Regions from separate parts of the Homo sapiens genome. Here region 2 is linked to region 1. The links are contacts of gene promoters, found by promoter capture Hi-C in blood cells and fetal thymus (Javierre and others, 2016). All regions are on one chromosome and are shown on one strand. Each heading gives the region's core, a stretch centred on a gene start or on the middle of the fragment in contact. The rest is flanking DNA. Distances are from core to core; before and after follow the strand shown. Region 1 holds the start of KCNF1 (potassium voltage-gated channel modifier subfamily F member 1). Region 2 overlaps LOC105373429 (a long non-coding RNA gene).

Evidence for each region. Contacts are between HindIII fragments. The CHiCAGO score rates a contact against its expected background, and 5 or more counts as called.
Region 2: a contact is called between a fragment that was not itself captured here and the fragment with the promoter of KCNF1 in region 1, in 1 of 17 cell types (non-activated CD4 T cells). The highest score is 5.5, in non-activated CD4 T cells.

What each region holds. Positions count from the first base shown.
Region 1 is chr2:10,909,431-10,914,074 of GRCh38, reverse strand. It overlaps KCNF1 (potassium voltage-gated channel modifier subfamily F member 1), which reads right to left and starts at 2,141. Exons shown (of 1, transcript NM_002236.5): 1 at 1-2,141. The coding sequence starts at 1,648. The coding sequence ends at 164. RefSeq lists an enhancer at 4,596-4,644. The HindIII fragment of the contact is 10,094 bases long and covers 1-4,644 here.
Region 2 is chr2:11,409,255-11,413,898 of GRCh38, reverse strand. All of the region lies in intron 2 of LOC105373429 (a long non-coding RNA gene), which reads right to left. Among named protein-coding and RNA genes, the nearest start is that of LINC00570, 18 kb to the right of the region's middle. The HindIII fragment of the contact is 294 bases long and covers 2,303-2,596 here.

The DNA.
Region 1 (4,644 bases), core at 892-3,391:
AGTCTTACCCAGCCTTGGCAGAGGTGCCGGGAGGGCCTTCAGAGTCTGTCCAGGGGAGGGTTGGGGGGACACAGGACAGCCCTTCTGTGCTGTCGATGACATGCCTGCCACATCTACCCATCTGTCCACCGCCTGGTCCATCTCTGCCTGAGGGGCCCTCCTGTCACTTGCAACTCTGGAGCCGGGTCCTGTGGTGCTTCTCCTCGGTCAGGAGGGGGATGAAGGTGTCGCTGTGGGAGAGCTTCAGCCGGCTGCTGCAGCTCGGCGCCTCCTTCCCCGCAGGCTCTGGAGGGAGGTTGTCCAGGTCACTGCGGGAGCCCCCGGTCTTGCCCTCGCCCCCGCTGCTGGAGTTGAGTTCCATCAGCTCCAGCTCGTGCTTGGCCGCGGTCTCCAGGACGCGCTGCTTGTTGTAGTACCTGACAAAGTTGTTGATGATGGGGTGGATGGGCAGGGCGATGGCGATGACACCACACAAGAAGCTGATGGCCGCGTTGAGCTTGCCCAGCGTGGTCTTGGGGTAGATGTCGCCGTAGCCGACGGTGGTCATGGTGATGATGGCCCACCAGAAGGACTGGGGGATGCTCTTAAACAGGGTCTCTGGATGGCTCTGCTCCATGGTGTAGCCCAGGGCAGAGAAGACGAAGATACCCACTGCCAGGTACATGAGCAGCAGCCCCAGTTCCTTGAAGCTGCGCTTGAGGGCATAGGTGAGGGTCTGCAGGCCCGAGGAGTGGCGGGCCAGCTTGAAGATGCGCGCGATGCGCATGATCCGCAGCGCCTGCACGGCCTGCTGCACGTTGGTCAGCTCCATCATGCGGGCACCCAGGTGCGTGAGCGTGAGGCTCACGTAGAAGGGGAGGATGGCCAGCACGTCCACAATGTTCATGAAGGACAGCGCGAAGTGCAGCTTGTTGGGTGACGAGAAGAGGCGCAGCAGGTACTCCAGGGTGAACCAGCCAATGCACGCCGTCTCCACGTTCTCCAGCGTCGGGTGCTCCACGCGGTTGCCCTCGGCGTCCAGCACCTGCAGCTCGGGGATGGTGCCCATGCACATGACCACGGACGAGACGAGGATGAGCAGGAAGGAGAGCACGGCCACCACCCGCGCCGGGCACGACGACTCGGGCTTCTCCAGGAACTTCCAGACGCACTTCTGGCAGCGGCGCCAGCGGCCCTCGGCTGCGTCCACGCCCAGGTCGTCCAGGATGAGCTGCACGCGGCGCGCGATCTCCTCCAGCTCCTCGCGCTTCTCGCTCAGGTGGCTCTTGCAACAGTCGTCCAGGAACTTGAGGTCCACCTTCCAGAAGTCCATCTCGTTCTTGAAGCAGATGGGGCAGATGCCCTTCTTCATGTGGACCTCCCCGAAATAGTACACCTCGATGACACACTTGAAGGCGTCCGGGTCCCTGTCAAAGTAGAACTCGCGCTTGCCGGGGTCGTAGTCGTCGCACAGGGAGAAGATGGTGTCGTAGCCCCCAGCCAAGCAGTTGATGAGCTCCGCCAGCCGGGTCTCAGGGTACTGACTGAGGAGGTCCCCGTACAGCACCTGCCGCACGCCCCCCACGTTGACGACTATCTCTATGTCGTCGCTGGCAGCGGAGCTCTGGCTGCCCGGCTCCGGGAGGCTGCGCTCCCCGGACCCGTCCATCCTCCCCGCGCGCGCCCTCGCAGCCTCCGCCCCGCGCCCCCTGCAGCCGCCGCCGCCGCTGCCGCTGGGGGTCCGGCGGGTGCCACCCGTGCGCTGATCTCGGGGAGAGCCTGGCCGGCGCCCGCCTGCGGGGAAGGGCGGTCACAGCGGGCAGCAGCCTGCGGGGGCGCGCCGCGGGGGAGGCATGCACCCGGCGGCGGGGCTCGGGGCTGGCATCCGGGCGCCCGGGCGAGCCCGCGGGGGCTTTGGCGGCCGCCGGCCTCGCCCGGGGCACTCACCCCGGCTGGCTGGCGGCGCGCTCCGCCGCTTCAGCTCGGCCTCCTGCGGGAGCGGGGTCTCCTCGTGGGCGGCTGGCACCGTCCTCCGCCCCGGGGCGCGCAGGCAGCGGCGGCAGGTCCCGGAGCTGGCGGACCCACGCCGTCCGCGAGGTGCTCGAGGTGTGCAGAGAGCGAACTTGGGCTGGCTTTGCCCGAGCCTTTTCTAAACACAATAGGAATTCCAGCCTGACGTCAGGAGCTTTTCAAACTGTACCCTCTTCTGGTGAAATTCTGCAAGGCACGCGCGGCAGCTGCAGGGGACGGATTAACCCTTGGGCAGACGGGCACAGCTGCCGCGCCCGCCGCCACCACCGCGCACCGCCGGCCCCTCCTCGGGCGCAGCGGGTCACCGAGGGGTTGCGACCTGGCTTGAAGCGGCAGGCATTCTCTCTCACTGCTGTTTGGAGAGGATTAGTGGGGAGAGAATGCTGCCGCCTGTTGCTGGGCAGGAAAATGTGCTCCAGGAAGCCCCTTAGAAGGTGACTCCTATGTCTGGGTCCCTCCTCCGGCCTTAGACCCGCGCCGGCTTTTCCTGGTGGGAGGAAAATCCTGCCTGATCCTTGAAGCGTTTCCTGCCCCATCCCCCCGACCCAGCAATGCCCTGCTGTGTTGGTGGCACTGTCTCACCTTCCCCGCAACGCTGTACAAGGAGGACATCTAGTCCAGCCTCCTGTAGAAGGGAAGGGACTTGCCCAAGGTCACGCGGCGGAATGAGAGCAGAGCTCAGCTTGACCGCCTCCTGATCCCGAGCTTTCCGGCTGTCCCAGCTGACCGACGCCTGCTGTTCAGCAGATTTCAATTCTGCCTTGAAGTCCCTGCCGTCTGGCACCTCCTATCTCTCTGCAGTCCCACACCAAGGCCACTAGCTTCCAGACCCCTAGGGTCCAGTGGCTCCTGCTTCCCCGTTCCTCACTCCTTGACCAAGGCCTGTCTCTTCCTGACCAGTGTCCCACACCCTCCTCTCTTCCAGCCTTTGCAGCCACAGCTGTCCTTCTGTCCTCACTCACCTGAACCACTACAGCAGCTTCCTAACAGTGTCTCTCTCCTCCGGTTCACCACTATCATCAATACTGCAAATTACTGATATCATCTATGGCCTCGAGATCGTGTTAAAAATATTCTGGAGGGAAGAATGAATAGGCAGAGCAGAGGATTTTTAGGGCAGTGAAACGTACCATAATGGCGGATATGTGTCGTTATGCAATGGTCAAAATCCATAGAATGTTCACCACCAGGAGCGAATGTTAATGCAAACTCGGTGCTGGGCGATGATGACGTGTCCATGTGGGGTGGTCCACCATGACAAGTGTCCCACCCTGTGTGAGATGTTGATGCGCAGGGGAGAGCTGTGGAGACAGGGGGCATGTGGGAATTCTCTGTACTTTCTGTTGAATTGTGCTCTAAAATATAAAGTCTATTTAAAAATGTATTCTGTAGGCTGGGTTTTTTAAAACTTAAGGACATGTCCGTTAATGGATTATGAAATCAATTTACTGGGTCACTGACAGTATTCTTTTTTCTTTAATGAGTTAGCATAAAACAGAATATATTAGAATACATCACATGAAGTATTATTTAGTGAAACTTCGTTTTACAAATTTTACTTCATTTCCATTTAGCATCAGACAATGACATGCTACTACAGAGTAGGAAATCGAGGCTCAGAAAGGTTGAGTAATAATAAGAGTTGCCACTTATTCTCCATGGGCATCGGAGTGCAGTCTCTGAGTGCTTTGCATTTTTGTCATTTAATTTCCCAGCAACCCCTAAGGAAACAAGATGTCAGGTAACCTGCCGAGATCACTCTGTGGAGCTGGGATTTAACCATTGTCCTGCTGGGTTCTGAGGCCTATTCTTCTCCCCAGTACAGTGCTACACACCACCTCCTACACACACCCCAGCTTCCTCTTCCAATCCTTATGCATGCTACTCCCCTTATCAGCTGTCCGAGTACCTGCAGGGTTAAGTTCAAATTGCATCCTAGTCTGAGCTTAATGGGCTTCTAAATACCCATTCATTCACTCAGTTATTCAAATATTTATCGAGCTCTTATGGCACATGTGTGCAAATGCACACACACACACATACACACACCACCCTAGGTGTGGGGACAGGGTTCATATTCTAGTAGATAATATGTTTTTTGTAAATAATAATTAACAGTTTGGGGTAATGACCTTAACAAGAGGGGTATATGTATTATACAAGAGTGGTGCTTCCTGAATTTCTCCACAGGGGGCGCTGAGGGGCGGCCATCTGGTTGGAAGAGGGAGGGGCTGCATTTGCCTAGAAGCCCAGCCTTCACTCACTCAGGTTTGCATCGGGGTGTCTGATGAATCTCCCTCAGCAGATAGAGCCCCAATAGCTACTCCTTTGTATCGTCATGAAATACAAGGTGCTGTGGAACCCGGGAGTTTGCAGATACCTGGGCAGGCCCAGGAGAGGCTGGTGCATTAAAATTATACCGCTGGGATTTAGAGAGATCAATGTCATTGAAAGAACGCATTACTAACATGTCCTGAGAGAAGAGGACACGCCAGAGGAAATTCCAGGTGTGGCCAGGCAGAAGCAGGAGCGAGGGGAAAACGAGGCCAGGCCCTCTATTGGGGTTTCCTGGGGGAAAAGTTAGGGCAGAACAGAGGAAAGAGTCCAGGATTGGCTCCTTGGGATAATTCTGGT
Region 2 (4,644 bases), core at 1,200-3,699, 500 kb before region 1:
TCTTTCTTGAGTCTTTTCTGCACATAGTAGCCAGAAGGGAAGTTTTGAAACCGTAAATTAGATCACTTCACTCTTCTACTGAAAGGGCTCCAACGGTTGCCCATCTCACAATAAAATCCAAACTCCTTACCATATTCTTTACACAGTGTACCCTGCCTACTTCTTGGGCTCCATCTCCTCCTACTGACTCCCTAGCACTCTGCAGTCCTGTCTCTCTTGGCCTTTTTGCTTTTCCTGGAGCGCACCAAGCTCATTTCCATCTCAGGTCATTTGCACTTGCCGCCTCCTCTCCTGAAATGCTCTCCACCCACATCTTCACATGGGTTGGTTGTTGTCTTCCTTTATGTAGGTTTCTAACTGAACCTACCTTGACCAGTCTTTCAAAAAGAGTACACCCCAATCACTCCAATTCTTTATCCTGCTTTACTCTTTTTTTTTTTTTTTTTTTGAGATGGAGTGTTGCTCTGTCACCAGGCTGAAGTGCAGTGGCACAATCTCAGCTCAACATCTGCCTTCCGGGTTCAAGCGATTCTCCTGCCTCAGCCTCCCCAGTAGCTGGGATTACATGTGCCCACCACCACACCCAGCTAATTTTTGTGTTTTTAGTAGAGATGGGGTTTCACCATATTGGCCAGGATGGTCTCAATCTCTTGACCTTGTGATCTGCCCACCTTGGCTTCCCAAAGTGCTGGAATTACAGGCATGAGCCACTGCACCCAGCTTTTTTTTTTTTTTTTTTTTTTTTTTTAGACAGAGTCTCACTCTGTTGCTTAGGCTGGAGTGCAGTGGTGCGACCTCAGCTCACTGCAACCTCCACCTCCCAGATTCAAGTGATTCTCCTGTCTCAGCCTCCCAAGTAACTGGTACTACAGGGATGTGCCACCATGCCTGGTTAATTTTTTTGTATTTTTTCGTAGAGATGGGGTTTCACCATGTTGGCCAGGCTGGTCTCAAACTCCTGACCTCAAGTGATCTGTCTGCCTCATCTTCCCAAAGTGCTGGGATTACAGGCGTGAGCCACCATGCCCAGCCTATCCTGTTTTACTCTTCTTTATAGCACCATCTCCACATGAAATCACACCACACATGTTCATGCACTTGTTTACTGTATGTCGTCACTGCTGTTCCTGAAGCTCCATGAGGATGGGGTCTTAGCCTGCCTTGGTCCCTTGCTTTATCCAGGGTGCCTAAAACAATGTCTATCGCATATCAATCACATAGCAGAATGTCTATCACAATATTTATTGAATGACTGAATCAGCAAACTCACATATAAAATTTGGGACAATCCAAAACTTTTTGAGAAACAACTTTTAGACTCAACACACAATGGGTGTACGTATCCTTTTTTAGCACATGGCTCATGTAGAGGCCATTTTATCTGTGATGGATTTACCACAGGGCCACAGTGCTTACAAAGAAGAGAGAGAATTGAACATTCTAAAGCGCGTTTAGCGCAAGGAAGGTCCTGCCTGGGCACTGGAGTTCTGGGTGGGACTTTGTTTTCCTGCAGCATAGTAAGGTACTGACAGATTCAGACTTTGGTGCATTCCCAGGACATGTGGCTTCCAGCAGAAAGGTGGGTCATTTCCAAGCAGTCGAAGCATTTCGTCTGTGCGACACAATTTAGAGCCCTTCCAGAATCCATTTTCTCAGTGGACCTCCAGGAATTCCCTGTCAGGAAAGAGTCAGACCTGCAGGGGGAGCTGATAGCATGCGTCCATCCTGGAAAGCCTCAGAAAATGGGGGTCCAGAAATCTAGCTATTCCTTCAAGTGGGATGGATTTAAAAGGTTATCGAATTTTATAAACATCCAGGATATTATTCTCTTACTCCTGCCAGAGGCTGAGAAATTGAAAGATTCTTAAGACTCAAAATCGCAAGTGGTCAAATTGCTTTTATACAGCCCGTATACGGCAGGATTTTATCGGAACTCTGGGGCCACTTCCTCTTCAAGGATAGATTTGAGAGTCCCTTATCTCCTTGTCTACAGACGTTGCCAAGGTGGTGGCTCCAAATGATGGTGAAGAATGCACAAGAAACACTGTCAAAATTCTGCCTCAAAAACACAAGAAGCCAGCTCTCATTATGAGATAGAAACTCTTGTGGGTTTATTGAGAGGACCCCAGAATTTCGCTTCATGCAAACAAGAGCAAAACCATGTGACCGTCCTGTTCAGAGGCCGAAAAATACTCAGCAAAATGGAAATCACTGTATTAATCTTTGTTTATTCACAAATAGCCAGGTCAGAATTAATTATCAAACCTTGCTTCTAAGTTCACACCAGGAACTCCATTAAGCTTTCCTGAAGCTGGTTTTTTTTTTGTGGGTCATAAAGTTTGCTTACTCTCAGACTCCAGTCCTTCAAGGCAACCCCTGGCAATGACAAAGAGTCCTAGTTCCCATCCCACTGTCACTCTAACAAGAGCCAGAATAGTGAGAAGGAAAAGGGGGTGGTTCCTCTCCGCCTGCTGTCCTGTGTTAGATCTGGGAAAGGGCAGGAGGAGACCTTTGCTGAGAGTGGTGGGCCTGGGACTGCCTCCAAGGCAAAAGTATTCAAGTCTTCACAGTGGCCTCAGCATCTCCTTTTCAAGCTTGTGAATTCCTGGACTTCTTTCTCAAGATCTTAAAACCAAAACAGCATATAGAAAAATACATTTTTCAAGGTTGCTCATTCCTTGTCCACACGGTAACATCCATGTCAGTGTATCTGATTATGTGCTCAGATCTCAGCAAGCTGTGGCTGCAAAATAAGGATGCATCTAGATTGTAATGACTTGGAGTCATCACCCGCCCAAAAGAGCAGAAAATTCAGGCCCCCTTCCCTTGGTTCCCTTCCTCAGGGTCCATGTTTGTCTACTATTACTTACATAATTAATAGCTCTAAAGGAATGCATCTTACAACTAACATCAAAAATTAAAAACACAACTCTTGGAGTACCTCCAGTTCAAGGTGTTGGCTGTTCCTAGTTGTCTGATGGTCATCCTCAGCCTGTGTGCTGAGGATCCACTCATCTGGTCGTCCCTGCTTGGAGTTATCTGCACTGGGATAACTGGAGGTGGGAGGCAGTGGAAATTTCGATTCCCAATGCCTCTCAGATTTGTTGCAGTCTTCCTGGATGTATCATCAGCATATGAAATAGGCATAGAGGGAAGAGGGGCTGCTTTGGCCGTGAATGTGACACATACGTACTTTGGACCTGTTGGGTTTGAGACACCAATGTTTCCATTACTGCATCTTGAAGGGTAGGGGCTTGAGGACCTCCGAGATTCTTCCAGATCATTCATGCCAAAGGCAAACCCTATGATGGTGTATGCTGATATTTGATGACAATGGAAAATGAGGTGTGTGCTTTTGGGAAGACTCTATCAGGCATATGGAAAGCGCTCTGGTGTTTGCCCCTTGCTCTTATGGCCTTCCTGTCAATTTCTTCATTTGTGACACGCTCATGCATCCATTCTTCATTTATTCATCCCCCTTTCCTCTCAGTTCTCAAAACATTGTATTTGGGACTCTTCTGGCATGTGTTTTCTCACATTGCATTGTGTCACCAATGCATGTTGGATAAATGAATGGAATGAGAAAGGATGGGGAAGTCATGTTTTGGCAAGTACTCCCACACAGGAAGAGAGCTGCAGCAAGAAAGTAACCAGACCACCCCCGCCCCCTAAAAAGCAAACATTTAAAAAAAACACAAATGGATATAAAACCCAATGAACTCCATGTCCTTACGATGAAAATAACAATCTTGGGATAGTTAGCGTAGCATTATTGTAGGGACAATAACGACAACAGCTGACTTTTTTGTATTGTTGATAATAATGATGTGAGCACATTCTATTTGTCAGGTATGCTGCTGAAAGTTTTATGTACACACTATGTATCTAATAGATACATATTATCTCATTTAATCCTCACAATGACCCCAGGAGGTAAGAATTATTACCCCCATTTTATATATAAGGAAACTGAGGCTGAGAGGTTAGGTCACTCCTACAAGATTGTATAGCTGCTAGGAGGCAGCTGGAATTCAAAGCTGGTCAGGGCGACTTCAAAGCTCAGACTCTGTCCACTCTAGTATCTTGCCACTGACATCATCACTGTGTCTAGTCCATATGATAAATGGTGTTCCTACTGGTGACCCTAAATCATCCTGTCATTTCCTAGTCTTAGAAAAGTGCACAGATGTATACTACCATTTGGAAAGAGCCCTTCCCAAAGGCTCAAAGTTAAAATGTTTTAGTTCTCAGTTGGTTACTCTTCAAATACCTGGAAATTTCATTTATATGGAGATCTTTTTCCCTATCAGTAAAACAAATGAGGAATTACAGTAGTTTTCTTGAGATTAAACCCCCAGAAACACACACAGAATGCCAGGCACAAATGCACCATGACTTTGCACATGAGAAGAGTGATATATTTTGGTTTGTTTCTAAAATCTTAAGAAATCATGTCCCAGACTAGTTTAACCTCTTGAGCCATAAAACACATTGGCCTATTGGCCTACTGGATTCAGAGAATAATCCATAATGACTCAATTCAAAGTCCCTCTCCTGGGTCCCTGTCAAAAGCTGAGTCACAACTTTTTTATACTTATAAACTGGATGATCCCTGCCACCAAATGGCTTTCCTTTCCATTTGCC